Regions from separate parts of the Homo sapiens genome. Here regions 1, 2, 4, 5, 6 and 7 are each linked to region 3. Evidence: promoter capture Hi-C in 16 types of primary human blood cells and fetal thymus (Javierre and others, 2016). All regions are on one chromosome and are shown on one strand. The core of a region is centred on a gene start or on the middle of the fragment in contact, and the rest is flanking DNA. Distances in the headings are between cores, read along the strand shown.

What was found. Contacts are between HindIII fragments. The CHiCAGO score rates a contact against its expected background, and 5 or more counts as called.
Region 1: a fragment that was not itself captured here is called in contact with the fragment with the promoter of SLC29A1 in region 3 in 1 of 17 cell types (erythroblasts); the score reaches 6.0 in erythroblasts.
Region 2: a contact is called between a fragment that was not itself captured here and the fragment with the promoter of SLC29A1 in region 3, in 1 of 17 cell types (erythroblasts). The highest score is 5.2, in erythroblasts.
Region 4: a fragment that was not itself captured here is called in contact with the fragment with the promoter of SLC29A1 in region 3 in 2 of 17 cell types (naive B cells and M1 macrophages); the score reaches 6.3 in naive B cells.
Region 5: a contact is called between a fragment that was not itself captured here and the fragment with the promoter of SLC29A1 in region 3, in 3 of 17 cell types (monocytes, activated CD4 T cells and naive CD8 T cells). The highest score is 7.8, in monocytes.
Region 6: a contact is called between a fragment that was not itself captured here and the fragment with the promoter of SLC29A1 in region 3, in 1 of 17 cell types (erythroblasts). The highest score is 6.1, in erythroblasts.
Region 7: a fragment that was not itself captured here is called in contact with the fragment with the promoter of SLC29A1 in region 3 in 1 of 17 cell types (activated CD4 T cells); the score reaches 5.3 in activated CD4 T cells.

Annotation. Positions count from the first base shown.
Region 1 is chr6:43,570,986-43,574,614 of GRCh38, forward strand. XPO5 (exportin 5) reads right to left here. Exons shown (of 32, transcript NM_020750.3): 2 at 2,495-2,616; 3 at 1,521-1,593; 4 at 1-9. Among named protein-coding and RNA genes, the nearest start is that of XPO5, 3.2 kb to the right of the region's middle. RefSeq lists an enhancer at 331-380. The HindIII fragment of the contact is 3,844 bases long and covers 196-3,629 here.
Region 2 is chr6:43,593,815-43,597,600 of GRCh38, forward strand. All of the region lies in intron 4 of POLH (DNA polymerase eta), which reads left to right. Among named protein-coding and RNA genes, the nearest start is that of POLH, 20 kb to the left of the region's middle. The HindIII fragment of the contact is 1,256 bases long and covers 1,903-3,158 here.
Region 3 is chr6:44,220,848-44,224,844 of GRCh38, forward strand. It overlaps SLC29A1 (solute carrier family 29 member 1 (Augustine blood group)), which reads left to right and starts at 2,748. Exons shown (of 13, transcript NM_001372327.1): 1 at 2,748-2,794. RefSeq lists enhancers at 2,577-3,435, 3,678-3,827 and a silencer at 2,588-2,987. The HindIII fragment of the contact is 15,932 bases long and covers 1-3,997 here.
Region 4 is chr6:43,683,478-43,687,175 of GRCh38, forward strand. The region is part of intron 1 of MRPS18A (mitochondrial ribosomal protein S18A); the gene reads right to left. Among named protein-coding and RNA genes, the nearest start is that of MRPS18A, 2.5 kb to the right of the region's middle. RefSeq lists an enhancer at 631-680. The HindIII fragment of the contact is 1,167 bases long and covers 1,200-2,366 here.
Region 5 is chr6:43,655,356-43,659,261 of GRCh38, forward strand. RSPH9 (radial spoke head component 9) reads left to right here. Exons shown (of 5, transcript NM_152732.5): 3 at 207-336; 4 at 1,222-1,368. Among named protein-coding and RNA genes, the nearest start is that of RSPH9, 12 kb to the left of the region's middle. The HindIII fragment of the contact is 7,215 bases long and covers 1-3,906 here.
Region 6 is chr6:43,618,809-43,622,589 of GRCh38, forward strand. It overlaps POLH (DNA polymerase eta), which reads left to right. Exons shown (of 11, transcript NM_006502.3): 11 at 1-1,715. GTPBP2 (GTP binding protein 2) reads right to left here. Exons shown (of 12, transcript NM_019096.5): 11 at 3,195-3,359; 12 at 1,686-2,982. The coding sequence ends at 2,806. Among named protein-coding and RNA genes, the nearest start is that of GTPBP2, 8.6 kb to the right of the region's middle. The HindIII fragment of the contact is 2,773 bases long and covers 923-3,695 here.
Region 7 is chr6:43,700,030-43,703,979 of GRCh38, forward strand. No RefSeq gene overlaps it. Among named protein-coding and RNA genes, the nearest start is that of MRPS18A, 14 kb to the left of the region's middle. RefSeq lists an enhancer at 2,875-3,860 and a silencer at 2,963-3,062. The HindIII fragment of the contact is 6,909 bases long and covers 1-3,950 here.

The sequences.
Region 1 (3,629 bases), core at 868-3,367, 650 kb before region 3:
CAATGTTCCCTGAAAAAGAACAAGAGATATTAAGAGATATGCAAGACTGGATTCCAGACTTCCAGAAAAAAGCTGGGCTGTAGAGTTGTAAAAAATTTATCAGCAGGCCTACTTTTAAACCAAACAGAACAAATGAACCTGTTCTTCAGCCTGAGTCACTTGTCCTGCATTCTTGCTAATCACTCTTCCGCTTAAAGCTTAAGTGAGGGTTGCATCACCTAAAAGGCTGTCATATCGAGAGCTAGGATGACATCATTATTCTTTACAAAATGAAAAGATTCTCATATTGATTGTTTCAGTTTGCAGAAGGCCAGGGAGGAAGAGTATAGAAATAAGGAGTATAGTGAGTAGCTGGTAAAATGGAAGGGTATGAAGGGGCAAATGAATATTTTACCAATAGTTCTAACACTAGAAGACGCAGAAGTATTAGAAGATCCCATCTCTCATGTCTGTTATTTAAAAAAAACCAAGAAAGAAAAAAGGCTACAATTTTGAACATGTTTAAAGTCATATTCTGTTTTGTGTTTAAAGAGACAGTCATCCAGTCATCACACCTGTAATCTCAGCATTTTGGAAAGCCAAGGTGGGAGGATTGCTTGAGGCCAGGGGTTTGAGACCAGACTAGCCTGGGAAACACAGTGAGACCCTGTCTCTCTAAAAACCAAAAACAAAATTAGCTGGGCATGGTACCACATGCCTATAATCCCAGCTACTTGGGAGGCTAAGGCGAGAAGATCACTTGAGCCCAGGAGTTCGAGGCTGCAGTGAGCTATGATCATGCTAATGCAATCCAGCCGGAGCAACAGAGACTCTGTCTCAAAAAAAAAAAAAAGTCATATTCTAATACTTGAAACAAATTCATTCTGCATACTTAAAATTCTGCATGTTTTTCATCATTAGTATCACATAGTAGTTGTTTGGAATAAAAGAAAATAGTGTTTCAATCTAATTTAGATCTAAGAATCTTATTGATTTGTTGAAAATATTTAATCCCCTCTGCCCTGTCTTTATAATTTAAAAAATAGAAGTCAATACATAAGCATGATTAATTAAACCTAGTAAGAGACATATGCTGAATTATGCTTTCTGCTTTTGTTTTGTTTTGTTTTTGAGATAGGGTCTTGCTCTGTTGCACAGGCTGGAGTGCCATGGCACCATCACAGCTCACTGCAGCCTGGACCTCCTGGGCTCAGAAAATCCTCCCACCTCAGCCTCCTGAGTAGCTGGGCCACAGGCATGCGCCACCACGCTCAGCTAATTTTTGCATTTTTGGTAGAGATGGGGTCTCACTGCATTGCCCAAGCTGCTCTCGAATTCTTAGATGCAGGTGATCCTCTTACCTTGGCTTCCCAAAGCGCTAGAATTACAGGTGTGAGTCACTGTGCCTGGCCTAAATTATGATTTCTTGTGCTGTCTGACCTATTTAGAAGCAGTGAATTTTTACACAAACTCCCTATTGAAGAAGTCACGCTTTGCCTAAACTACCTTGGAAACATGTCTCCCAACCACCCATTCCTTACATTTGCAATCAGCTCCATGACACTGTTCTTCAGATACACCTTCTCCAATCGAGACATGCCGTTCCACCGAAACCTGACCACCAAAATGCATAAAGTCAATAGAACCACTTTAGAAGTCTTGTCTTTACAAGAGAATAGCATGGATTTCTACATTTGATTACACTGGAGATTTCATTAAGAAATTATACTTTTGATTTTGTACCTGTCAATGAATGGGCAAAAATGATCTACATTTAACCAAAATACTAACACAAAAATTCTTGGGAAAAGGTTTTATATATGCAGTGGTCCATTAACTGGAATCCGCACAAGATTTGTACCACACGTCAGCTTTGCCTCATGATTTTATTGATGGGCCAAAAGTGAATATACATCTAGGTCAACTGCAACAATGTACTTGCTTTTCAGAAAATGCAGTTTTGACATCAGTCATTTTCTGTGCTGGCTTACAAAACAATTCTGGAAAAACTATGGCTAAGTCTTAAAGGCTACCTCTTCTGATAGGTGTTGAGGGTAGGACAATCAAGTTAGGATGGGTTTTCAGTTATTCTCATACAATCCTGCTTTGGATGTACCACCCAGAGAAGGCACACAAACTCAGAAAGACAGAGAGAAAAAAGAAAGCCACAGTGCCTAATCAGAGATTCATTGACCTATACATTGCATTACTCTAAAAAGGCTTCGAGGGCTAATGACATATAGTCAGAGCTCAGTAAGTATTGGCTAAATGGCAGGTAATATTTGTTGAATGGGTAATATGTACCACACACTTTACATGGATGAAGAAACTGAAGAAAAGAAAGGTTAAATCTTGAATGAGAGCTCCTGTGAGGTTCTGATAACATCTAGGGGATCATTCCTCTCTTCTTGGAGATTGCTCTTCTCTACTCACCTAAACAGCATCTCTATAGGTTATATAAGATATAAAGATCTGTTCTCTCAGACTTCAGTGGTAATGTCCAAGAGCTCCTTACTTGACAACGTGTTCCAGGATCTGAAGGCCAAAATGTCTGACGATGGCAACTTGTGTTTTCTCAGCCAACCTCAAGCCACAGGGGACACAGATAGGACACTTTTCTTTAAACTCCTCACAAAACTGAAAGAAGAAAAGTTAGTGTTTCCTTTCGAGGGCTGAGAGAATAGGGACTAAAAGAATTTCATCTTAAGAAACTCCAACCAGGGCCGGGTGCGGTGGCTCACACCTGTCCCAGCACTCTGGGAGGCTGAGATGGGTGGACTACTTGAGTCTAGGAGTCTGAGACTAGCCTAGGCAACATGGCGAAACCCCATCTCTATTAAATATATATATATATATATATTTTTTTTTTTTTTTTTTGAGACGGAGTCTCACTCTGTCGCCCAGGCTGGAATGCAATGGCATGATCTCGGCTCACTGCAACCTCTGCTTCCCAGGTTCAAGCAGTTCTCCTGCCTCAGCCTCCTGAGCCCATGTAGCTGGGACTACAAGTGCACGCCACCACACCCAGCTAATTTTTGTATTTTTAGTAGAAACAAGGTTTCATCATGTTGACCAGGCTGGTCTTGAACTCCTGACCTCAGGTGACCCACCTGCCTTGGCCTCCCAAAGTGCTGGGATTACAGGCGTGAGCCACTGTGCCCGGCCCACTAAAAATATTTTTTTAAATTAGCCGGGCATGGTGGCAGGTGCCTGTAATCCCAGCTACTCAGGAGGCTGAAGTGGTAGGAGAATCACTTGAGCTCGAGAAATCAAGGCTGAAGTGAGCCGAGATCTCACCACTGCACGCCAGCCTGGACAACCAGAGTGAGACCCTACTCAAAAAGAAACTCCAACCTAAGCTATATGTTTAAAGTTGCAAAACCTAGATCAATATTATGTGGATCTCCAAGCACAGTTGCTTTAAAAATATATATTTAATATAAAAATAAAAATATAAAATATATAAAAGTTACACATATATAACATTTCCTCCAAGTGGTGTTCACTCTATTTTATGTGTATATATTATATATATATTATGAATAAAGAACTGATAAACATTCCTTCCAGCGTGATGGTTCCAGATTTTTTCCATGCTACGGCCAACAGTAGCCCTACTAGTGTTGGAAAAAAATGGACACAAAGGAATA
Region 2 (3,786 bases), core at 1,281-3,780, 630 kb before region 3:
GGTTGCAGTGAGCTGAGATTGCGCCACTGTACTCCAGCCTAGCAACAGAGTGAGACTCCGTCTCAAAAAAAAAAAAAAAAAAAAAGAAAGAAAGAAAAGTTTTTTCTCAGCTTTCATGGGCATTTAACACCAGAACTACCTGAAGTATTTCCTGTAGTCCATTTCATGGTATTGAAGAAAAACCAAAATTTTATAGATTTTTCTTATCAACTAGAGAAAAGGTAAAAAGCATTGTAGGGAAATAAGGGAATTCTGCTTATCTTCTGTGGTCCCGTTCAGTTAATACAGATAAAGGATTAAATTTAAAAATCTACATTGCCACAGGATTGCAACATTACCCAATCTGGGAAAGCAATGATGAAAAAAATCTAAAGCAGAGAAAATTTAGCTCTAACTGTTTAAAAAGGTCCAGAAAGTCATACAATTACAGTAAATTATTCATATTTTTGTTTCCCAAAGCTAATATATACTAGTATAAATTGTTTTAAATGATGGATGTTTTAATAGTATTTATTGTTCTTAATATGTGCAAGCCTTGGTATTTCAGGAAAACAGATAATTAAAAAAAAAGCAAAAAATGCGCAAGCCACTGTGCTGAGGAACTTTATTTTTAAAAACTACCTTTTGGCCGGGCACAGTGGCTCACGCCTGTAATCCCAGCACTTTGGGAGCCCTTGAGGTCAGGAGTTCAAGACCAGCCTGGCCAACATGGTGAAACCCCATCTCTACTAAAAATACAAAAATTATCTGGGCCTGAAGGTTCACAGCTGTAGTCCCAGCTACTCCGGAGGCTGAAGCAGGATAATTGCTTGAACCTGGGAGGTGGAGGTTGCAGTGAGCTGCACTCTAGCCTGGGCAACAGAGCAACTCCGTCTCAAAAAAAATAAAAAATAATAAACTATCTTTTAATCCTCATAACAGCTATATGAAGTGCAGTTTGTAGACAAGGAAATTGAAGCTTAGAGAATTATGTAACTTGTCCAAAGTCACATGGTCAGTAGGTTATGAAGCCAATATTTGAACCCTGCTTGACTGCAGAATGTTCTTTTAACAATTATGCTCTACTTCTTATGGCCATACATGGTGGTTTACACCTGTAATCCCATCACTTTGTGAGGCCAAGGCTGGGGGCTGGGGAGGTGGGGGGCATATGGGGGGGGATTGCTTGAGTCCAGGAGTTTGAGACCATCCTTGGTGACATGGTGAAACCCCGTCTCTACAAAAAATACAAATTAGCTGGGCGTGGTGGCATCTGCCTGTAGTCCTAGCTACTTGGGAGGCCAAGGTAGGAGGATCGCTTGAGCTCAGGAGGCAGAGAATGCCCTGCCAAAAGACAGGTTTTTTTTTTTTAGTTTTTTTTTCTTTTTTGAGGTGGAGTGTCACTCAGCTCACTGCAACCTCCGCCTCCCGGGTTCAAGTGATTCTCCTGTCTCAGCCTCCTGAGTAGCTGGGATTACAGGTGTGCACCACCACGCCTGGCTAATTTTTGTATTTGTATTTTTAGTAGAGACGGGGTTTCACCATGGTGGTCAGGCTGGTCTCAAACTCCTGACCTTGTGATCTGCCTGCCTTGGCCTCCCAAAGTGCTGAGATTACAGACGTGAACCACCGCACATGGCCCAAAAGATAGTTTTTAAAAATAAAGTTCCTTGGCCGGGCGCAGTGGCTCATGCCTATAATCCCAGCACTTTGGGAGGCCAAGGCAGGCGGATCACGAGGTCAGAAGATCAAGACTATCCTGGCTAACATGGTGAAACCCCATCCCTACTAAAAAAAATACAAAAAAATTAGCCGGGCGTGGTTGCAGGCGACTGTAGTCCCAGCTACTTGGGAGGCTGAGGCAGGAGAATGACGTGGACTCGGGAGGCTGAGGCAGGAGAATGGCGTGGACCCAGGAGGTGAAGCTTGTGGTGAGCCGAGATCGCTCCACTGCACTCCAGCATGGGCAACAGAGCGAGATTCTATCTCAAAAATAAATAATTAAATAAATAAAATAAAGTTCCTCAGCACAATGGCTTGCATGTATTTTTCTTTTTTTTTTTAAATTACCTATTTTCCTGAAACACCAAGGCTTGCACATATTAAGAACAATGAATACTATTAAAACATCCATCATTTAAAATAATGTATACTAGTATATATTAGTGAGCCAAGATCATGCCACTGCACTCCAACCTGGATGACGGAGTGTGACTCTGTCTCAAAAAATAAAACAATTATGTCTACTTCATATTACAGATAAAAGGTAAAGAACTTTAATGTGGTACTAGAAAGCTAGCTAGAATAGTTGAAGGAGAGGACTTCATAATAGATAAACTTGCCATAAGCCCTAAAGTATAGATGTGTTTAAGCAAAGGAAAGAAGAACAGAGTTAAGGGGTAAGAGCTTGCCAGGCGCGGTGGCTCAGGCCTGTAATCCCAGCACTTTGGGAGGCCAAAGCGGGCAGATCACAAGGTCAGGAGATCGAGACCATTCTGGCTGACACGGTGAAACCCCATCTCTACTAAAAATACAAAAAATTAGCTGGGCGTGGTGGCAGGCGCCTGTAGTCCCAGCTACTCGGGAGGCTGAGGCAGGAGAATGGTGTGAACCCGGCAGGCAGAGCTTGCAGTGAGGCGAGATCATGCCACTGCACTCCAGCCTGGGTGACAGAGTGAGACTTCGTCTCAAAAAAAAAAGAAAAAAGAAAAAACCTGAATAAAATAGGGTGGTGGGTTGCAGTGGATATGTGAAATATTTTAAAGTAGGTTTTGTTGACTAAATGGCTGCATAATGAGGAATGAAAGAGAAAATAAGCCAATATTAATGTGGATTTTAAGCCCTTAATAGAAATAGGGAGTTGGTTGGAAAGAACATTTGAGAAGGAAGACAAAGTTTGATTTTAGTTATGTTTAGTTGGAAACCATAATTAAAAATTCAAGAAAAGTTCTTCTGTAGGGAGTCAGGAAAAGTTCTTCTGTAGGGAGGTAGAGCTAAGGGATTAGAGTGTACATTTGGGGATAAAGATTTGTATGTACTCAGAGTAAGATATTTTCAAGGTCCTAAGTCCCAAGCAACATCTGACTTAAAACAGCTTATCAAGGGAATAAATCTAGTGCCTCGGAGTGGATTTTAAGTTACTCAGCTGGAATCCACCTCTAAAAACATGTAAATGTTAAAGCTTATATTGAAGCTTGAGTTAATTCTGAATATTTTCTAATTGAAAAAAATATTCTTGGAGAAGATGTTTAAGTGATTAAATATAGTAGGAGAAAGAAAATTCAAGAGAACTGGGGAGATAAATGTGTTTACATTATTTTTTTTTATTTTTATTATTTTTGAGATGAAGTCTTGCTCTGTCGCCCAGGCTGGAGTGCAGTGGCGCAATCTCGGCTCACTGCAACCTCCGCCTCCTGGGTTCAAGCGAATCTCCTGCCTCAGCCTCCTGAGTAGCTGTGGTTACAGGCCTGCACCACCATGCCCAGCTAGTTTTGTATTTTTAGTAGAGACGGAGTTTTGCCATGTTGGACAGGCTGGTCTTGAACTCCTGACCTCAGGTGATCCACCCGCCTTGCTCTCCCAAAATGCTGGGATTACAGGCGTGAGCCACCGTGCCTGGCCAAAAATGTGTTTTAAAATCATTGCTCATGAAAGATGATATTAATACAAAATATTTGTCGTACATTAGCACTATAAAATTCAGCCTATGCTGAAGCTAAGCTGCGGGAACACTCTGAAGGAGAAATTGAGCTCTCTTATAATTGGTCTTCTAAGCTGGCTGCCATTTTTTTGTGAAAACTTATATGT
Region 3 (3,997 bases), core at 1,498-3,997:
ACTTATTTTGATTACATTAAAATGTATCTTTGTTTGTTTGTTTGTGTTTTCAGACAAGGTCTTGCTCTGTTGCCCAGGCTGGAGTGCAATGGCAGGATGATGGCTCACTGAAGCCTTGTCCTCCCGGGCTCTAGTGAACCTCCGGCCTCAGCCTCTGGAGTACCTGGAACCACAGGCTCGAGCCACCATGCCTGGCTAATTTATTTTAATTTTTTTTGTAGAGATGGGGTCTCACTGTGTTGCCCAGGCTAGTCTTGAATTCCTGGGCTCAAGTGATCCTCCCACCTCGGCCTCCAAAAGTGCTGAGATTTCAGGCATGAGCCACCACTCCTGGCCTAAAATTTATCTTGATTCATGAGTTTTTTGGCTCCCCCTTACATTTTACACCCCTGGCAAGTGCCTCACTGGCCTCTCCCTAGTCCCAGCCCTGTCACAAGGCCATGGAGATACAGTCACAAACACAACTGAGAACACAGACAGTCATGAGACATGTGCTGGTTACCAACCCCCAGGCCAAGCAAACACACTTCCAGCAAACACACATGACTTGTTGGTGACAGCTGAGAGGACACATGCCTGGGGAGAGAGAGGACTGTGTGTGAGGTGGTGAGGCATGCATGGGGCCTGCCAAGTTGGGGAGGGAGTCTGGGCCAAGCCACGGTCCCATATAGGGTGGTGAATAAGGTGTAGAGTAGAGGTGCAGCAGGACCAACCCTTCCCACCCCACCCCTTCGACAGGGACCTGAGGGAGCTCAGGGAGGGAGAGAAGCCAGAAGACCAGGCAGAGACTGAAGAGAGCTGGCAAGGCCTGGCTAGAAAAACTCCAGGCAAGGCCTGTGTAAGTTGGGGCTCCCAGGCTGTCCAGCAGGGGGCCCTGGCACCCAGCAACCTCTGCTTGGGAGGTGGCTACAGAGGGGTGTGGGTGTTGGCTAGGGGCCCAGCAGGATGGATGCCAGACGGACTTCTCTCCAACAATAACAGCCCTGGCTGTTGCCATCCACCGAGCTGGCAGGGCCCCAGTTTGGGTGGGGAGAGGAACCAGCCTTTCCCAGTCTGGCCTGAGACCCTCACCACTTCCCTCCAGTTTTCTTCCACCTCCAGCCCCCTCTGTACACAACTGCAGCCACTGGCCACCAGCCTTGCCATGCCTGGCAGATCTTCTGACCACTAGCCCTGCCACCCCCACAGACCCAGAGACCAGGAAAGGAGGGTGGGGAGCGAGGAAGGGGGCCAAGGCAGAGGGCAGAGGAGGGCTAGGAGAGGAAGAGAGAGAGACTGGACAAACATGAGGGCAGGAATTAGGGGGTTGTGGACAGACATGAAGCCACTCTCAAGTCATGGGGCTGTGCCTGGAAAAATACCACCTAAACCCATCTTCCTGCCCTCTGGTTAGGGCTGGCGGGGATGTGGGGGATGGGGGTGGGGTGGGGGAGGGTTGGGAAGGAATATGTGTGTCATCTCTGTGGGGCATGGAAACAGAAGGCTGGGGACACCCATTCTGGAGTAGCTTGGGGAGAGCCACTGACCCTAATTAGAAAAGCCACCTCTCTCCTTAGGGCCCTGTCTGTTTCTCTGGGGACAGGGTAGGACTACCTTATCCCTATGATGTGAGGTACTGCCAGTTGTTAATCAGTGTCTGTGGCTTCTCTAGGGGACAAGCCCTTCGGGTCAGTGGGCATGGGGTGGGCAGCGTGGGTTGGATTTTCTCCTCAGGACCTTTCCAGCCTTAGGATCATCCTCTAGCACTGAGTACTGCTGGAAGGGCAGGGAGTGCCCCCCACCCCACCCCATTTATTGCCCGACCAAAGAGAGGGCCTCCCTCCCCCTCCCTTGGAGGGACTTGCTGGACCACCCCTCAGCACGCCCACACCTTCCTCCTTAGCTAGTGAAAGACATACTCAGCAAGGCTTCCGCCTGTCAGGATGGCTGGGACAATAGGATTCACTGAGGATATAAGGCTGTTCCTAGCTTTTTCTCTTCCCATTCCCACCTGTGCCTCAGTTTTCCAAAGTGCTGGATTTAGAAAGGGTGAATTATGAGGGAGCTGGAGGGCTTTGCCCCACCCCCCTCCGCGCGCACACGCAAGCACAGGCAGAGGCACATACCCCCTCCAAGTCAAAGTTGTGAGTGGGGTGGTGTTTGCGCGTCTGTGGCTGGGACTGGATGTGTCAGGGATGGGAAAACCCATCATGCTGGTCACAGAAAATGCGCGGTGGGGACAGAAGCAGTTTTGAAGGAAAAGAAGAGGAGGGGGACTGAAAGAAAGAAGGGGGCGCTGAAAGGGAGGGCGCTGGGAGGAAAAAGGTGCAGTGTGGAGGAAGCGCGGCGTGGGCAGGGCTTGGGAAGGGATAACGGAATATCTGAGGTGGAGTGGGCCGTGGAGCGTCGGGGCCGGTCTGAGCAGCGGGTGTGTAAATGGAACAGTCCCGAGATGAATTTTATGGGAGTCTGCGCAGGTCCTTAATGTGTGGCTGTACCCTCCAGCCCCATGTACCCCACACGATGGACAGACAGCCTTGGTGTGGCAGGGCCCAAAGAGGTCCTATCTACCGCAATAACACGACCAGGCGGCCCTGGGGGCGCAGGGGCTCGGGGTGGGAGCGGCGGAGCGCGCGGAGTCGCCGCGGGGTGGCAGGGGTGGGCCGGGGGCGGGGCCGCGGGCGTCGGGGAGGTGGCAGTGGGCGCAGGGCGGGGCGAGCTCAGCGGAGGGCGGGTTTGAATGTGCCCCGGCGGGAGAGGGAAGCTGCAGCGAGAGCGCGCGGATCTCAGCGCGGGAGCAGTGCTTCTGCGGCAGGTGCTGCCCGGGGCCGGGGACTGGGGACTGGGGACTGCCGGGGCGGAAGACGCCGCTGCCCGCCTGCCACGGAGGGCAGGGAGGGCGGGCCTGACGGCTCCGCAGCCCGGAGAAGGGACGCCGGGTGGGGCCCCAGTGCGGAGCGTGCGGAGCCGCGCAGCACGTGGCGCGCACGGGCCAGGGAGCCTGAGGACCCTGCGGGGACCGGGACCCAAGCTGGGCGGGGCGGCCTGGCTCCCGGGCCTAAAACAGGCTGCGGTCACGTTGACCTCCGCAAGGGGCAGGCGAGTGGACGGGTGATCCCCATCGATCTGGTCGGTATCAGGGAGGGGCCGTGCCGCTGACTGCGCTGGCGGAGGGGTATGGGGATGGGGATGGGGATGGAGGCTCGCGAGCGGAGGTGCAGGCTCGCGAGCGGAGGTGCGGGGCTGTCTCTTTAACCCCGGTCTTTTACTGGCTAAACTCGTATCCCTGGCGTCTCCTTCCTGCGCACGTCTTCATTTACTGATTTACTGTGAGGGTATATGAGAGGGTGAAGACAAACAGTCCTCGGCTTTGCTTACCAGGAGAGAGCAGTCGTAGGTCAAGGCTGGCTCCAACCCTGCCCTCACACCTCTAGGGGTCTCTCTGCAGCCCTGTGGTAGTCCCTTTGCCTACTCCTCTCGGTGGCCTCCAGACCCTCCAACTTTCCTCCTGCTTGTGTAAGCTCCCCATGCCAGGATGTGTGTGATGGGGCGGGGCTGAGCTGCCTGACACTCAAGTCAGGCTGGGAATGATCTTGGTCTCCACCTCATTTTTCCCTTTAGTTGAATCAGAGTTCCCCCCACCTCCCAGTCTACAGGGCTAACTGAGAAGCAGCTTTTATACCTCTCTCCATTCCAAAAGGAGCTTGAACATTTAATATGGATTCTAGCTCCTCCACTCACCAGCTCTGTGACTTCAGGCAAGTGACTCAACCCCTCTGAACCTCAGCTGGCCCCATCTATTCAGTGCTAGTACTAGCTTATGGGTGGTTGTGAAGAAAAGACAAGAGATCTGCAGGTAGTGGCTAGCCCCATATGAAATCCTGGGAGTGGAGAATTGCAGGAGAGGTGTTGGGAGTCTGGAGGCAGGGAGGTACTCAATTTGGTGGCTACTTTCAGGGGCCCACCTCAGCAGGCCAAGGCATAGTTGGAGGGACACCAGATGCTCTGAGCTGGTATC
Region 4 (3,698 bases), core at 533-3,032, 540 kb before region 3:
AACCAAACAAAACCTGATCCATTTTGTTCCTGGCTGCCTCCCTATTCAAGAGAAGTGGGGGTGGCTAAGAAAAGCTGGACTGAGAGATTTAGGCAGTAACAGAAAACTTGTTTAGAAAAAGATGGAATCACCCTTGTGTTCTGAGATATGGCAGTATCAAGTAAGCTAAGGGAAGAGATGAAGCAGTTTTCTAAACTGGAACTAAGGGCCAAAATCTTTCCAGATAAGCACTTCTCATACACATGAAATAATCTGTCCCCAGTGAGGCAACACATTTGCTGGGCACTTATGGACTATACAGCTTCATTCTACCTACTGTGAATTACAGTAGAATAGGAGCCACAGTCTTTGCCCTAGAGGAGGAAAAGAACTAAACTCTGCATGGGAACTTGACTATAATAAAGTCCATGCCTCGTAAAGAGGTCCTTTGAGTACTTCAGTAAATACTTGCCCAGGATGGAGTCCAAGATAACTGAATTATAACAGTGTGGAACAAATGACATTGTGGTGAGATTGCAGTGAATGCAAAAGGAGGAGATGGGGTGACACCTATAGTCTCAGCTACTCAGGAGGATCACCTGAGCTAAGGAGTTAGAGGCCAGCCTGGGCAACACAGCAAGACCTTGTCTCTTAAACAACAACAACAACAACAAACACAGAAAATGCAAAAAACCTTGATGGCCACATGAACAGACACAGTGAACTGCAGCCATGTAAAGACTCAACTGCTTAATAAAAGAGGAAGTGAAAAAAGATGAGGAGTGCAGGGCACTGCTGAAGTGCCCAGAGACCAAGGTCCCTCTTGGAGAGGATCTGTAAAAACCAGGGCCCAAGCAGAGTAGGAAAGACTGGAGTAACTGATGGCTGGGCAGTGGCCCTAATAGTCTTATGTAGGGTCAGGGAGAGGTGTGCCATGTTTGGGATGTGTGCTTGCATTTCTGGCCACTGACAACTTTTTGCAAACACCTTCCTGCCTCAAGCCCTGCTTCCTCCAGTTCATCTTTAACTCTACCATTAAAGTTTCTGGTTCCCTCATCACCTCCCCCTTTCTTTCCCTTGGACCCCTGAGGGAATGTCCCTCTGCCCTATGCTTCAGAATGAGTCGTCTTACTGCTGCACAAAAATTTCTTCCCACTAGCAGGTTACTCTGGACTATGTCCCCTGAATTCTTTAAAGACTCCAACTCACTCCTCTCTCAAAGCTTTTATATGGGACTGCCCAACCTGCCAGGCATACCCTTGTCTGAAACGTTAGGTCTTCCAGAAGGCCTTCTTAACTGACTGTGAAAGAGATGAAGCAAATTCCCTTTGGCCTTTACTCACTTCAATATACCTTTCTCTAAGTGTCTGACAAATCATGTCTTAATTTATATAATAATATGTTTGTTTTTTTATTTTAAATACATTTCCTTCACAAGGGCTCTAAGAGGGATAAGGGAGGAATGAGATCCAACACAGTCTTTGCTAAATCTGGCAGTGCCAACCATAATGGCACTAAATGGTCTTTGGCAAGTTAACTGCTAAGAGCTTTCAGGGAAGGAGGGAACAATAAGGGAGGCCCTGCCATGGAATACCAAGGTGATGTTACTGGTGGAGAGGGAAGAGGGCTGGCTCTACTTCCAACTCCATCACTTATTAGACAGGTGATGCTGGGCAAGCTATTAAACCCCTTGGAACGGCATTTCCTCATTTATAAAAATGAGGACAGTTAATATCTACCTTTAAGGTGTTTTTGAGAAGACTGAATAAATGTATGTGGAAAACCTAGCACAGTATTTGAAGCAGGCACAGTAAGTCACAATTTCTATTTTCGTCCTCCTTCAGTCTTGCTTTTCCCATAATAACCTTTTTTTGGCTTTGTGTATCTCTCTGGTCAAACTTTAAACCAGGCTTTCTCAACAGCAGCAGGACTGCCATTTTGGGCCAGATGGTTCTTTGTTGTGGGGAACTGACTTGTGCATTATGTTTAGCAGCGTCCCTCGCCTCTACCCCCCAGATGCCAGTAGTACCAGTTGTGACAACCAAAAATGTCTGCAGACATGGCCAATTGTTACTGGGGGACAAAATTGCCCCCCAGTTGAAAATCACTGTTTTAGACTGAAAGTCTTCATAGACAGGAAAATTGGTGCTCAGTCCTCAAGAGCTGACTAAAATTATGTATTATTATCTGATACTTTGAAAAGTAGGATGCCTGAATATTTTCAGCAAGAGAACCAGCTTCTTTCCCACAACTTTAAATTCTATGTGTACAATATTGTTTGGGTGTCACATATACCAGCTGAGACTAGTCAAAATTAGCTATATGTATAATACTTTATGCCTTACACATAATGCATAGACTAGCAAAAGAAAATGTTTTCATTTACAAGCTTTGAAGATAGGTGATTCTTAAGAATATAGAATATGGTAGTGCCTTCATGTAGAATCATATTAATTCAACCTAACATTTAGATGAAGGACTTCAGAGACCCATTTGATTTACAGTCCATCCTTTTTTACTTTTTTTAAAGAGGTGGGCGTTCTCACTACGTTGCCCAGGTTAGACTCCAATTTCTGGGCTCAAGTGATCCTCCCACCTTGGCCTTCCAAAGTGCTGGGATTAAAGATATGTACCACTGTACCTGGCTTACAGTCCATCATTTCACAAACTCTCCAAAGGAAAAAATTAAGTCTAACTTCAAATATTTGTTGTTAAAACAAAACGATTCCTCTTGCCTTTTTTTCTGGAAGCATAGCAAAATCTGCCTCAACTTTGAATTTCATAAGAATATGCAAATTGTAGCCAATAGTGTTTGACACTTGGTAGACTCCCCAAAATGGTATGGAGATATGCCTATTTTGCAGCATGGGAACAAATGAAACATCCAAGTCCTCTCTATCATCTGCATGATTTCTTTAGTGTCTTTATTAATGGGTCTACTAATGGATAAGTTAATCAGGCAATATCCAGACTTTTTTTTCTAGCAAATGCTCCACTTCCCTTACGGGCTAAATTCTTCAAACATACTTACTATTTCCATCTCTTCATCAACTATCTCTTTCATTTCTCCAAACTGGATTCCTTGTTTGCCACTCTATTGAAATTGCTGTTTGAAAGCTACAAAGAGACCTCTTCTGAGACAAATCCAATGGCCCCTTCATTAGGCCCTTTTTAGACTTTTCTGCTCCCTCTGACAACAATGATCACTCTTTTCCACTGGATACTTCTCAGCTTTCGTTAAAGGATATGCTGCCCAATACTATGCCAGATCCTCAAAAAACCCCACATCTCTTCTTTTGCACATCACTCATCCTTTCCTGCTTCCAGGAGTACACAAAGGAAGGCTATGTCCTAAAAGACCGTTTCACTCTCCGCCAGATTCCATCCTTTTGTGAGCCTGCTCAAGACACATCCTCTTTATGAAAACTTCCAACTGGGTTTGCCGTTTCCAGTAACTGAGTCTCCCTGTACTTCGTCACGTAAAAGGCTAACTTGCATTTATTGGAGTGTGTATATACATAATCTCATTAGAACCTAAGCTTTTCAGAAAAAGGGCTGTATTTTCTGTCTCCAGAATTCCTTCACAGCTTGAAGCATAGCACTTGGCATTCAGTAAACTCTCAGTTGATGCTCGAATCAGGCCGCTTTCCCAGATTAAGATTAATGAAAAGCTGAACTACCATCCTGCATTTGCCTATGTCTCAGCTATTCAATGGCCT
Region 5 (3,906 bases), core at 1,113-3,612, 570 kb before region 3:
TATGTATTACGAATTAAAAAACAAATAAAAAGAAAGGAAGAAAATCTTGATAGGAAGGAAGGCGAGGGCCTGCCCAGCGTGATCTGTGTGGCTCTGGGGTCCACTACACTGCAGTGGTGCGGGTGAGATGGCCGTGCAGAGGGACCTTGCGCCGGGGTGCCTGGGCACAGTGCCCTGGCAGGGGGGCTCCTCTCCTGTCTCCTCAGGTCCAGATCAAGGAAGAGACCCGCTTGGTGTCTGTCATTGACCAGATTGACAAGGCTGTGGCCATCATCCCCCGAGGCGCCCTCTTCAAGACCCCTTTTGGACCCACCCATGTCAATCGGACCTTTGAAGGTGAGTTCTCTGGGGCCCCTCTCAAGGGCTGGGGGTATCTTTTCCCAAGCACAGTAGAACATATGTCTGGGAGTCCAGCAGGGGGGCTTACACACTTTATCAGAGAAGGAGTAGCTGTGACCTTATCACCTGGGAGGGTGTGCCCAGTGACCTGGCACCAGTGGTCGGTATGGGCTCCCCATCTCCTGGCCCCTGACTCTCTTCAGTTTGAGGAGTGGGAGAGCATATAGTCCCTTGGTCCCAGGGCTTTACATGGGTCTGGGCTACCTGCCTTTTCCTATCTCCTTCCTCCTTGGACTTCCTTCCTTCCTTCCTTCCTTCCTTCCTTCCTTCCTTCCTTCCTTCCCCTTCTTTCCCTTCTTTCCCTTCTTTCCCTCCTTCCCTCCCTCCCTCCCTCCCTTTGTTTCTTTCTTGATGGTGTTTTGCTCTTGTCATCCAGGCTGGAGTGCAGTGGCACAATCTTGGCTCACTGCAACCCCTGCCTCCTGGGTTCAAGCGATTCTCCTGCCTCAGCCTCCCGAGTAGCTGGGATTACAGACACCCTCTACCACGCTCGGCTAATTTTTGTATTTTTAGTAGAGACGGGGTTTTGCCATGTTGGCCAGGCTTGTCTCAAACTCCCGACCTCAGGTGATCTGCCTGCCTCGGCTTCCCAAAGTGCTGGGATTACAGGCATGAACCATCGTGCCTGGCTGGACTCTCTTTGTGGCAGGATCTGGTCCGAGTTTGGACTGAGGGAATGCTAATCCCTTTCCTTCCTTTAGCTCTCTGACAGTGGTTGACAGGGTCTTTTGTAAGCCCTACCATGTGGTCCCAGTGCAGACAGAAAGGGGGCTGGGGGGTTTTGGGCTAACCATCATTTTCCTGCCTGCCACCTCTTTCTAGGACTGTCCTTGTCTGAGGCCAAGAAGCTCAGCTCCTACTTCCATTTCAGGGAGCCTGTTGAGCTAAAGAATAAGACCTTGCTTGAGAAGGCTGACCTGGACCCCTCCCTGGATTTCATGGACTCCTTGGAGCATGACATTCCCAAAGGTAATAGTCCATTACCTGGAGGCCATGGGATCTGTCCTCAGGCCATAGCAGTGGGCCATGCCACCTGCCATTTTCCTCTGAGACTGGAACCAAGGGCCTAGTGGGAATTGGTGGTTCACCATGGGTTTTTGAGGGTGGAGCTTCCCCAGGGCCCAGCTTATAGTACACACTGATGAGTGTCCTTGAATTACAAAAGGTAGGATTGTTTTCCATATGCTTTCACAGAGAGGAGGTATCTCAATGTCTCTTGATTTTTGTAGCAATCTTGAATGGGGGCAGGTTGGGAATCTTCTCCCAAATATCCTTGAAAATACTAGCCATACTTACATCTCAACTGTTACTTTTGGGATTCTGGTATTTAGGGACTGGATATAATGCTTGGCCCATAGCTGGTGGTGCTGATCCCATTTCCTTCCCTTGAGCATCTCTGGTAGAGAAGAGCATGTCCTTGGATTCTATGACCCAATTCAGGTTCTAGGCTCTAGGCCATCGGGGGCCAGGCCCAAGGCACAGACTCAGCGCCCCACTTCTTTCTCTTCCCTTGTTGGGTGTTCCTGAGAATGAGAGGGATCTAATGATGATGATGGCAATGATAATGACAACAATAACAACTAACTCATGAAATGTGACACTGCTTATCATGTGTCAGGCACCGTACTCAGCTCTTGCCATGCCTTATCTCATTTTAATCTTCACAGCCAGCCTATTATTTTTATCCCCATTTTACAGATGAAGAAACAGGGGCTCAGAGAGTTAAACCCAAGGACACAGTAAGTGTTAAAGTGTTAGACTCCACAGTTCTGGCATGAACTGGATTGTTAAGTAAACAATAGTTTAAATGACAATAGGAACCACAGGACAATAGTCACCCACACCTCTAGGGGGAAACACTTCTGAAGAGCAGCAAGCGACCCAACTGGGGGGTATCTCAGGATGGGGATGGGGATGACAAGGGCTGTGGAATCAGACAGGCTGGGTTGGAATCCTGAATTGGCCACTTACTAGCTGTGTGACTTCATGCAAATCCCTCCATTTCCCTGTGCCTCAGTTTCCTCATTTCTAAAAAGGGGAGAATTGATATTTTCTACCTCAACGAGTTATGAGAATTAAATGGACTACTCCTATACCACCCTGAATGTGCCTAGTCTCTTCTGATCTTGGAAACTAAGCAGGGTCAGGCCTGGTGAGTATTTGGATGCAAGAATTAAATGAGTTAACTCATGCACAAAATGCTTATAACAGTGCCTAACACATAGTAAGGACTCAAATGAAAATGAACACACCAGCCGGGTGCGGTGGCTCACGCCTGTGATCCCAGCACTTTGGGAGGCCAAGGTGGGCAGATCACTGGAGGTCAGGAGTTCGAGACCAGTCTGGCCAACATGGCAAAACCCCGTCTCTACTAAAAATAGAAAAATTAGCTGGGTATGGTAGCACACGCTTGTAAACCCAGCTACTCAGGAGGCTGAGGTAGGGAGAATTGCTTGAATCTGGGAGGCAGAGGTTGCAGTGAGCTGAGATTGCGCCACTGCACTCCAGCCTGGGGCAACAGCGCAAAACTCCGTCTCAAAAAAAAAAAAAAAAAAAGAAAAAAAAAAAAAGAAACGAACATATCTCAGAGATATTGCAAATTTGGCTCCTGACCACCATAATAAAGTGAACATCGCAATAAAGTGAGTCACACATTTTTTGAAAAGTTGTGTTTGTACTATACTATAGTTTGTTAAGTATGCAATAGCATTGTGTCTAAAAATGTTAAAAAAATTAAAAATTCTTTATTTCGTAACAATACTAACGATCACCTGACCCTTCAGCGAATCATAATCTTTTTGCTGGTGGAGGGTCTTTGCTCTGTCGCCTGGGCTGGAGTGCAGTGGCGCAATCTCGGCTCACTGCAAGCTCCACCTCCCGGATTCATGCCATTTTTCCTGCCTCAGCCTCCCAAGTAGCTGGGACTACAGGCGCCCGCCACCATGCCTGGCTAATCTTTGTTTTTGTATTTTTAGTAGACGGGGTTTCACCTTGTTAGCCAGGATGGTCTCAATCTCCTGACCTTATGATCCGCCTACCTCGACCTTCCAAAGTGCTGGGATTACAGGTGTGAGCCACCATGCCCAGACATGCCCAGCTAATTTTTGTATTTTTAGTAGAGATGGGGTTTCACCACATTGGCCAGGATGGTCTCGATTTCTTGACCTCGTGATCTGCCCGCTTCAGCCTCCCAAAGTGCTGGGATTACAGGTCTGAGCCACCAAACCTGGCTTACGTAATATTCTTAATCCTTTGTTGTTCTCATTTCAACAATGTTCACAGCATCTTCACTAGGAGTGGCTTCCGTCTTAAGAAACCACTTTCTTTGCTCATCTGTAAGAAGCAACCCCTCATCCATTCAAGTTTTATCATGAGGTTGCAGCAATTCAGTCACATCTTCAGGCTACACTTCTGAATTCTAGTTCTTTTTCTTCTTCCACCACATCCGCAGTTACTTCCTCCACTGAAGTCTTTTTTTTTTTTTGGAGATGGAGTCTCGCTCTTGTA
Region 6 (3,781 bases), core at 1,059-3,558, 600 kb before region 3:
TTAGTAGAGATGGGGTTTCGCCACGTTGGCCAGGCTGGTCTTGAACTCTTGATCTCAAGTGATCCACCCGCCCTGGCCTCCCAAAGTGCTGGGATTACAGGCCTGAGCCACCAGGCCAGCCCCAACTTCTACTTTTTATTTTATTTATAAATTGGGGGGGGGGTTCTATATTTAGTTTGAAGAGGTGGGGAAGATTTGAAAACCACTAGATTTACCAGGAAATTTTTTTCTTCAAAAATATTTTCTGCTTTTATGATACTTGAATATCTAATAAAAGACAATATTTAGCCAGTCACGGTGGCTGATGCTTGTAATCCTAACACTTTGGGAGGCTGAGGTGGGTGGACTACTGGAGCCCTGGAGTTCAAAACCGGCCTAAGCCACATGGCAAAACAGTCTTTACAAAAAATACAAAGATGGTGGCTTATGCCTGTAGTCGTACCTACTCAGGAGGCTGAGGTTGGGAGGATCACCTGAATCTGGGAGTTTGGGGCTGCAATAAGCCATGATTGTGCCGCTGCACTCCAGCCTGGGTGACAGTCTGAGACCCTGTCTCAAAAAAAAAAAAAAAAAAAAAAAAAAAAAAGACTACATTCACTGTATACGTGGCCTTTTCCCCCTAACTAGCTATGTAGCTTCTTAAAGGCAAAGATTCTTCATAGTGCTTTGCACATGATAGGTGCTGATACTCATTGGATGAATGTATATAGTGAAGAATTTTAGATCTGATTACCACAATTGGGATCATAAACATGTATAAACTCCTTGGGAGTCTGCCTTATATACTTTTTATCCCCCTAAATGTTCCATTAATGTTGCAGAGAGGCTCACTAGTTCCTGGAGATGTCTTATTAAGTACTGAAATGTGATTTTCCAAAATTTTCTTTACAATACAGGCAAAAGATAAGTAAATTGTGGACAAAGCTTTCATCTCTATCAGCAGCTATAGAGAGGAAGTAAACAGCTTAGCCCCTAATACAGGAGGAAGTTGTTCAACTACAGGCTTGTTAGTAGCAAGTTAAACCAGTTACATTTTATAAAACAGCCTGAGTGGTAGGGAAGCTATCACTTTAATACTCTAGAGGCAGAATGCCACATAGGACTTTGGGTCACATATTTCTTTTCCAGGGTCTCCTCAAAATGCAGTTTCTATTTACAGTTGACTTTGGCCCCTATTTACCCATAAAATGTCAAAATCAAGTAGTATGAACATGGAAACAGGAGCAGGGACTAAGGTTTGGTCAAGTGGCCCTCATTGTTCCAAGAGTAATTTAGGCTATGTAAACTTGAAAAATATGGGACCAGATTACCTTTTGTCTCTAAATTCTACTCTTCTTTAAGTAGCTGGCACTGTATCTCTGCCAGGGCACAGAAGTGGGCTCCTTACTATTCTGACCACTAGCAAGTGGCCAACTCTTCAAATACAGGGTAGCTACCTATTTCACGTGAAAGGCCTCAGTATTCTGCTCACTTGAACTACGGAAAATAGGCCACAATACTTGGTTACAATACTGGAACTCTGAACCTATGTGGAGGAGAGAAAAACAATGGTGAACGAGATACCAGCTGGGCTCTTTCCACATTCAGGGCTCAGCAGTGTTGGGGTTTCACTTGTCTCTAATCCTGAAGAGGTATCTAGCCCTGGAAGGAAGCTGAGCCTGTAGCTAACGCATAAGCACAGTGTATTCAATAAAACATTTTTATTCTGTACAATATATATGTGTATTTAAATATATATACATATGTATATATATATATATGCACAGAGAAACCTTAGCCAACAAATCCCTGAGTCCATGGGAACCCAGGACACTAACAAAGGGAAAGGAGAGTCCATGCCTAAAGAGTAGGAAATATGGCAACATCTTTCCCTTTCCTCCTGGTTCCCTGCAACAGAGGGAAGGGAACAGTCACTACAAATTACTAAAACGAGGGTTTAGGTGGGGCAGGAAAGTGGGGTGAGAGTGGTAGGATGGGGAACTCAGATGCCACCAGTCTGGGAAAGTAAAACATTTGATCCAGCATGAAAGCCAACATGACCGCAGAGGAAAAAGACCAGACTGATGGGCATGCAGCTGGCCTTTGGTATATGCCAAGCCTTTGCTTGGTAGCCCCACGCCTGGGCCAGCACAACAAATAGCACCTGTGGGGCCTATAAGCCGGGAGGGGATGGGGGAGATAGGGACTGGGGAAATGGCCCTTGAGTGAAGGAAAGGGAGATAAAGCTGAGGAAGAGGCCTCAGGCCTCAGCACAGGGTGGCAACACTACCATTCACTGTCCCTGTGCCATTTCTTCAGACTCTGGGCCGCCACCACCACCAGATGGCCAAGAGCAGATAACCTTTTGTCCACAGCCAGGTAGAGATGGGCAACTTACATGGCCTTGAGAAGAGGTATAGAAAAAGGAGTGCTTTTGAGGGCTACCCCCTGTTGTGACCATTCCTGAAGTGCAGAGACCACACCAGCAAAACATGCCCAGTCTTAGTAGTGGGGACGAAGAATTGATGAGTGGATCCAGTCAGCTCCGGCAGACAGGCCACAGGGTTGCCAGGTTTGATGAGCCAACCAGGTGAGCACACAGCTTCGGAGCACTGCCCTGAATCCTGTCTTCTCCCTCAGGACTGCCCTTTCCTGGCCACACCAAGTTTGGCACCTCTCCAGAAAGTTGGCAGGGAGCAAGTGGCAGACAGCACCCCTCTCTCCCTAGCCTATTAACACACAGAGCCGCCAATGGCAGGGCAGCATGGCCAGAAGTCACCTTATATATTGTAGGGACAGCAATAGAACTGTCCCTGCCTGAAGGGTTCAGAAGCCCATGTTGGCCTGGGCTTCTCCTGCTGTAATGGCTTGTACATCAGTGACATGGCCGATGCCCTTGGTGACACCCTCCCGGAACAGCAGTTTGGCGCCCACCTTCAGGTACTCTGGGTGTTTCAGGAAGCGGAAACGTACCACTGCCTTCTCGCCTGTCCGCAGTTTGTCCTGCAGCAAATAAGTGGTCACTCCCCTGGCCAGTGCCTTCTGTCCCATTCTCTGCCAGCCGTGGCTCTCCACCCTCCAGAGGCCTATCAGGCCGCTACCCACCCTAAGTGGGGTTTTATTCCCATTGTGGGATCAAGGAGTTCTCTGCCAGTCTGGGGCAGGCCTCCCTCTTTTCTGACCTCTGGAGAAATGGAAGGCCAGGTCCCTCTCACCTTGGCATGGATCTTTTCCACCACTGCCGTCTGACGTACGTTGCCCACGTGTACTGTCACCTGGAATCCTCGTCGGAAGGTGGTGGCATGGAACAGTAAGACTATCTCTGCCTCAAACACCGAGCAGATGGTAGGATTCATCTCCGGGCTCACCATCACCATGCCCTGGGGAGGAACAGACCCCAGGCCCAGGAAGGGCAGCTCTAACATCAGACTCTCCCTCCCCAGCCACCCCACACCCTTTATAGCTCCTGAATTTCCTCTTCCTCTACACAACTCTAAACACAAAGACCTCAAAAGACAATAATCAAAACTCTCAGAGGGAATGAGTCTTTACCCACCTCCTACGTCCTCTAGCCCATCTAACGCTTCACATTTTTAGGGTCCTGAACACTAAAAATAGTGTTCATTAAAAACAGTGTAACATAGTGATTCATATTTAGTTATCTGTACCTCATGAGTACGTTAAGCTGTTTTTATAGTCTACGTAGCTAGACCAGAAGCTTCTTGGGTCAGAGAGTGTGTTTCCTCTGAGTTTCTCTGAAGCACCTTAGATAGGTGCTCATTCAGTAGCCAGTCTCCTAGGC
Region 7 (3,950 bases), core at 448-2,947, 520 kb before region 3:
ACACCACCATGTAAATATTTAAACCGATCTATTATTTCCTGTTTATTATCAGCATAAATCCTGAGTTCATTCATTGAGCATCTGTCCCCTGGTGTCTATCTCAGAAGGGGAGGCCTGAAGCCAGGGCCATATGTCCACTCTTTTCTAGGAGTACAGAGTCACTCAGGGCAACTGGATTGCTAATTTTGTCTTTTATTTATTTTATTTCTTTCTCCAACTTAAAAATTGTGGCAAAATATGCATAAATTTTACCACCTTAACTTTTTTTTTTTGAGATGGAGTTTCACTCTTGTTGCCTAGGCTGGAGTGCAATGGCACAATCTTGGCTCACTGCAACCTCCGTCTCCCGGGTTCAAGCGATTCTCCTAACTCAGCCTCCCAAGTAGCTGGGATTACAGGCATGCACCACCACGCCTGGCTGATTTTTTGTATTTTTAGTAGAGATGGGGTTTCTCTATGGTGGTCAGGCTGGCCTTGCACTCCCAACATCAGGTGATCTGCCTGCCTTGGCCTCCCAAAGTGCTAGGATTACAGGCATGAGCCACCGCGCCCAGCCCATCTTAACCATTTTTAAATGTATAGCTCTAGTAGTATTAAATACATTCATATGGCTGGGCGCCGTGGCTCACGCCTGTAATCCCAGCACTTTGGGAGGCCAAGGTGGGTGGATCACCTGAGGTCAGGAGTTCCAGACCAGCCTGACCAACATGGTGAAATCCTGTCTCCACTAAAAATACAAAAAATTGGCTGGGTGCAGTAGCTCATGCCTTTAATTCCAGCACTTAGAGAGGCCGAGGCGGGAGGATCGCAAGGTCAAGAGATCGAGACCATCCTGGCCAACACGGTGAAACTGCGTCTCTACTAAAAATACAAAAATTAGCTGGGCGTGGTGGCACGTGCCTGTAATCCCAACTACTCAGGAGGCTGAGGCGGGAGAATTGCTTGAACCCAGGAGGCAGAGGTTGCAGTTAGCCAAGATCGTGCCACTGCACTCCAGCCTGGCAACAGAGCAAGAATCCATCTAAAAAAAAAAAAAATTAGCCGGGCGTGGTGGCGGGTGCCTGTAATCCCAGCTACTCAGGAGGCTGAGGCAGGAGAATTGCTTGAACTGGGAGGCAGAGGTTGCAGCGAGCCGAGATTGCGCCACTGCACTTCAGCCTCGGTGACACAGTGAGACTTCATCTCAAAAAAACAAACAAAACAAAACAAAACAAAAAAAATTCATATTGTTAGGCAACCATCCCCACCTTCTATCTCCAGAATTCTGTTCATCTTATAAAACTGAAACTCTGCATTAATTTACACAAATTCCCCATTCCCTCTTCTTCCCCTTTCCCTGGCACCACGCTTTCACTTTGTCTCTGGATTTGATGACTCTAGGTGCCTCATATAAGGGGAATCACTCAGTATTTGTCTCTTTGTGACTGGTTTATTTCACTTAGCATGATGTCCTCAGGTTCATCCATATTGCAGCAAGTGTCAGAATTCCCTTCCTTTTTTTTTTTTTGTTCTGAGGCAGGGTCTCACTTTGTCCCCCAGGCTGGGTGGAGTGCAGTGACATGATCTTGCTCACTGTAGCCTCCACCTCCCGGTTTCAAGTGATCCCCCTGCCTCAGCCCCCCAAGTAGCTGGGACTACAGACATGTGCCACCATGTCCGTTACTTTTTGTATTTTTTTGTAGAGATGGGGTTTCACCATGTTGCCCAGCCTGGTCTCAAATTCCTGAGCTCAAGTGATCCACCCACCTTGGCCTCCCAAAATGCTGGGATTACAGGTGTGAGCCACTGCGCCTGGCCATTCCCTTCCTTTTTAAGGTTATATTCCATTGCATGTACGAACCACATTTTGCTTATGTGCACTTGGGTTGCTTCTGCCTTTTAGCTGTTGTGAATAAGCTGCTATGAACATAGGTGTACAAACCGGCTTTCATTTTTTTATTATTAAAGCCTATTTTTTATTGATTGCTTATTATGTGCTCAGGACTGTGTAGACTTAATCATTTAATTGTCACAAGTACCTCCTAGGTGGCAACTATTCTCTCCATTTTATGAATGAAGAAATTGAGGCTCTGACAAGCCAAGTAATTTGTCCGAGGTGACGAAAGGGGAGAGCCAGAATGAGCACCTGCTCCTGTTCTTTAACCACCATTTTACTGAATTGTGTTGATGATGGACATGAAGATGAGGTCTTGGGGTATATTGCCTGCAACACCTCCCTCCCCTCTCCAACAGAAAGGGCAGACTCTTCCCCTGACCATCTGCCCAGTGAGATTGGGAGTGAATCCATCCTGCCTGGATGATTCCATCAGCAAGGGCTCTCATTCCTGGCTGCTCATCAGCATCAACCAGGGAATTAAAAGATGATGGCCTGGCCTCTCCCCGGAGTTAAACAGAACAGTTGAATTGAACTCTCTCAGGGCTGGAGCCCAGGCAGCAGCGTTTTTTAAAGGCTCCTTAAATGGTTCTATGTGCAGCCAGGGTTGAGAACCACTGGGCTAGAGGAGAGCGGAGGAAGACTACAGGAGAACTGGTTCCCTGTCCAGCCTCTTTGACTTTCCTTGTGAACTGCTCCACCGCTTTCCCAAGAGTGGCATTTGGCTATGAATGCCCTGAATCCCGTGACTCAGAACCCCTGGAGTGCCTCCCTTCTTTTCCTCCAGAGGTTCTGTTTGGGGTGTGTGAATGTGTGTGTTTGTGTGTGTGTGTGTGTGTGTGTGTGTTTGTGTGTGTGTCCCCTGTGTGACATAGGGCCCGGATGGACCTATCTGGACCAGCCAGACCCTAGAATGAAAACAAGTTGCTGACAGCCCTCAGGCCGCCAGAAATGAATTTCCGTCACCTCCCAATGAGGGGTGAGGGAACTGAGGGGGAGGGCCGGGGTCAGTGCGTCATCAGAGGGTGGGGAGAGGAGGAGGGGAGTACACAGGCCCCACAGGGCGGGGTCAGGGAAATTAGCCTCTGGGCCTGCCCCGGCTCTTTTGCCTGTGACTGTGGCACAACTCCCGTGGTGTTTTGCCCCAAGCCCCACCCATCCTGAGTCTCCCTGAGCTCTGTCTAAATCCAGGGTGGTGTCCAAGCCTGGAGAATTTCCAGGTTGGGCTCTGCCCTAAGGCATCCAGCCTGTGGAGCTGCTTGAATGGGGGCACGTTGGGATGAGGGGGATCAGTTAGCCTGTCCTGGGGATCTTCCTCCAAGCCAGCCTTGAGCCAAGACCTGTAAGATCCATGTGGGCCTAGCAGCCTGCCAGCTCAGTGCCTACAGCAACATGGAGGAAGGGGCTGGGGGTGCAGAAGAAGACCTACCTTGGGCACTGGAGGACAGAGGTTCAGCCACTGCCCTCCTGTGTGCCCCTGTGCAATCACTTCTCTCTGCGCCGTGACATCTCCATGTGCGTTAATTATAAAGGATTAAAGGATTTGGCCCAGATCCCTAGTTCCCAAATTCAGTTGCGCTTTGGAATCTTTCGGGGAGCTTTAAAAACTACCATTGACAATTTCATCCTCCAGAGATGCTGATTTAATTGGTGTAGTTTGTGGCCTGAGCATCAGGAGTTTTAGAAGATCCCCGAGTGAGTCTAATTTAAAGCCACGTTCTAGAAAACTACTTCCTAGCCACAGATACATCATGGCACCCATAGAACATGACAGTATTTGAACAACACACTGTTTCTTAGTCGCTCTGTGCCTCAGTTTCCTCATCTGTACAATGGGGATAATAATGGAACTTGCTTGGTAGGGTTGTTGTGAAGATTATATGAGCTAATGCAGAAAGGCATTGAGAAGAGCACCTGGCAAGTAGTAAAATGCTCAATAAATGTGAGCTGTTTTTATTAATTACCCTCTGGCTCTGCTCCAGATCTGGCCCAACTTCCACCCTCTGTCTTATCTCTCCATGTTCACACACCTCACCAAAGCGACTCAACCTGGTAAACATTTACTAGGGGTCCTCTG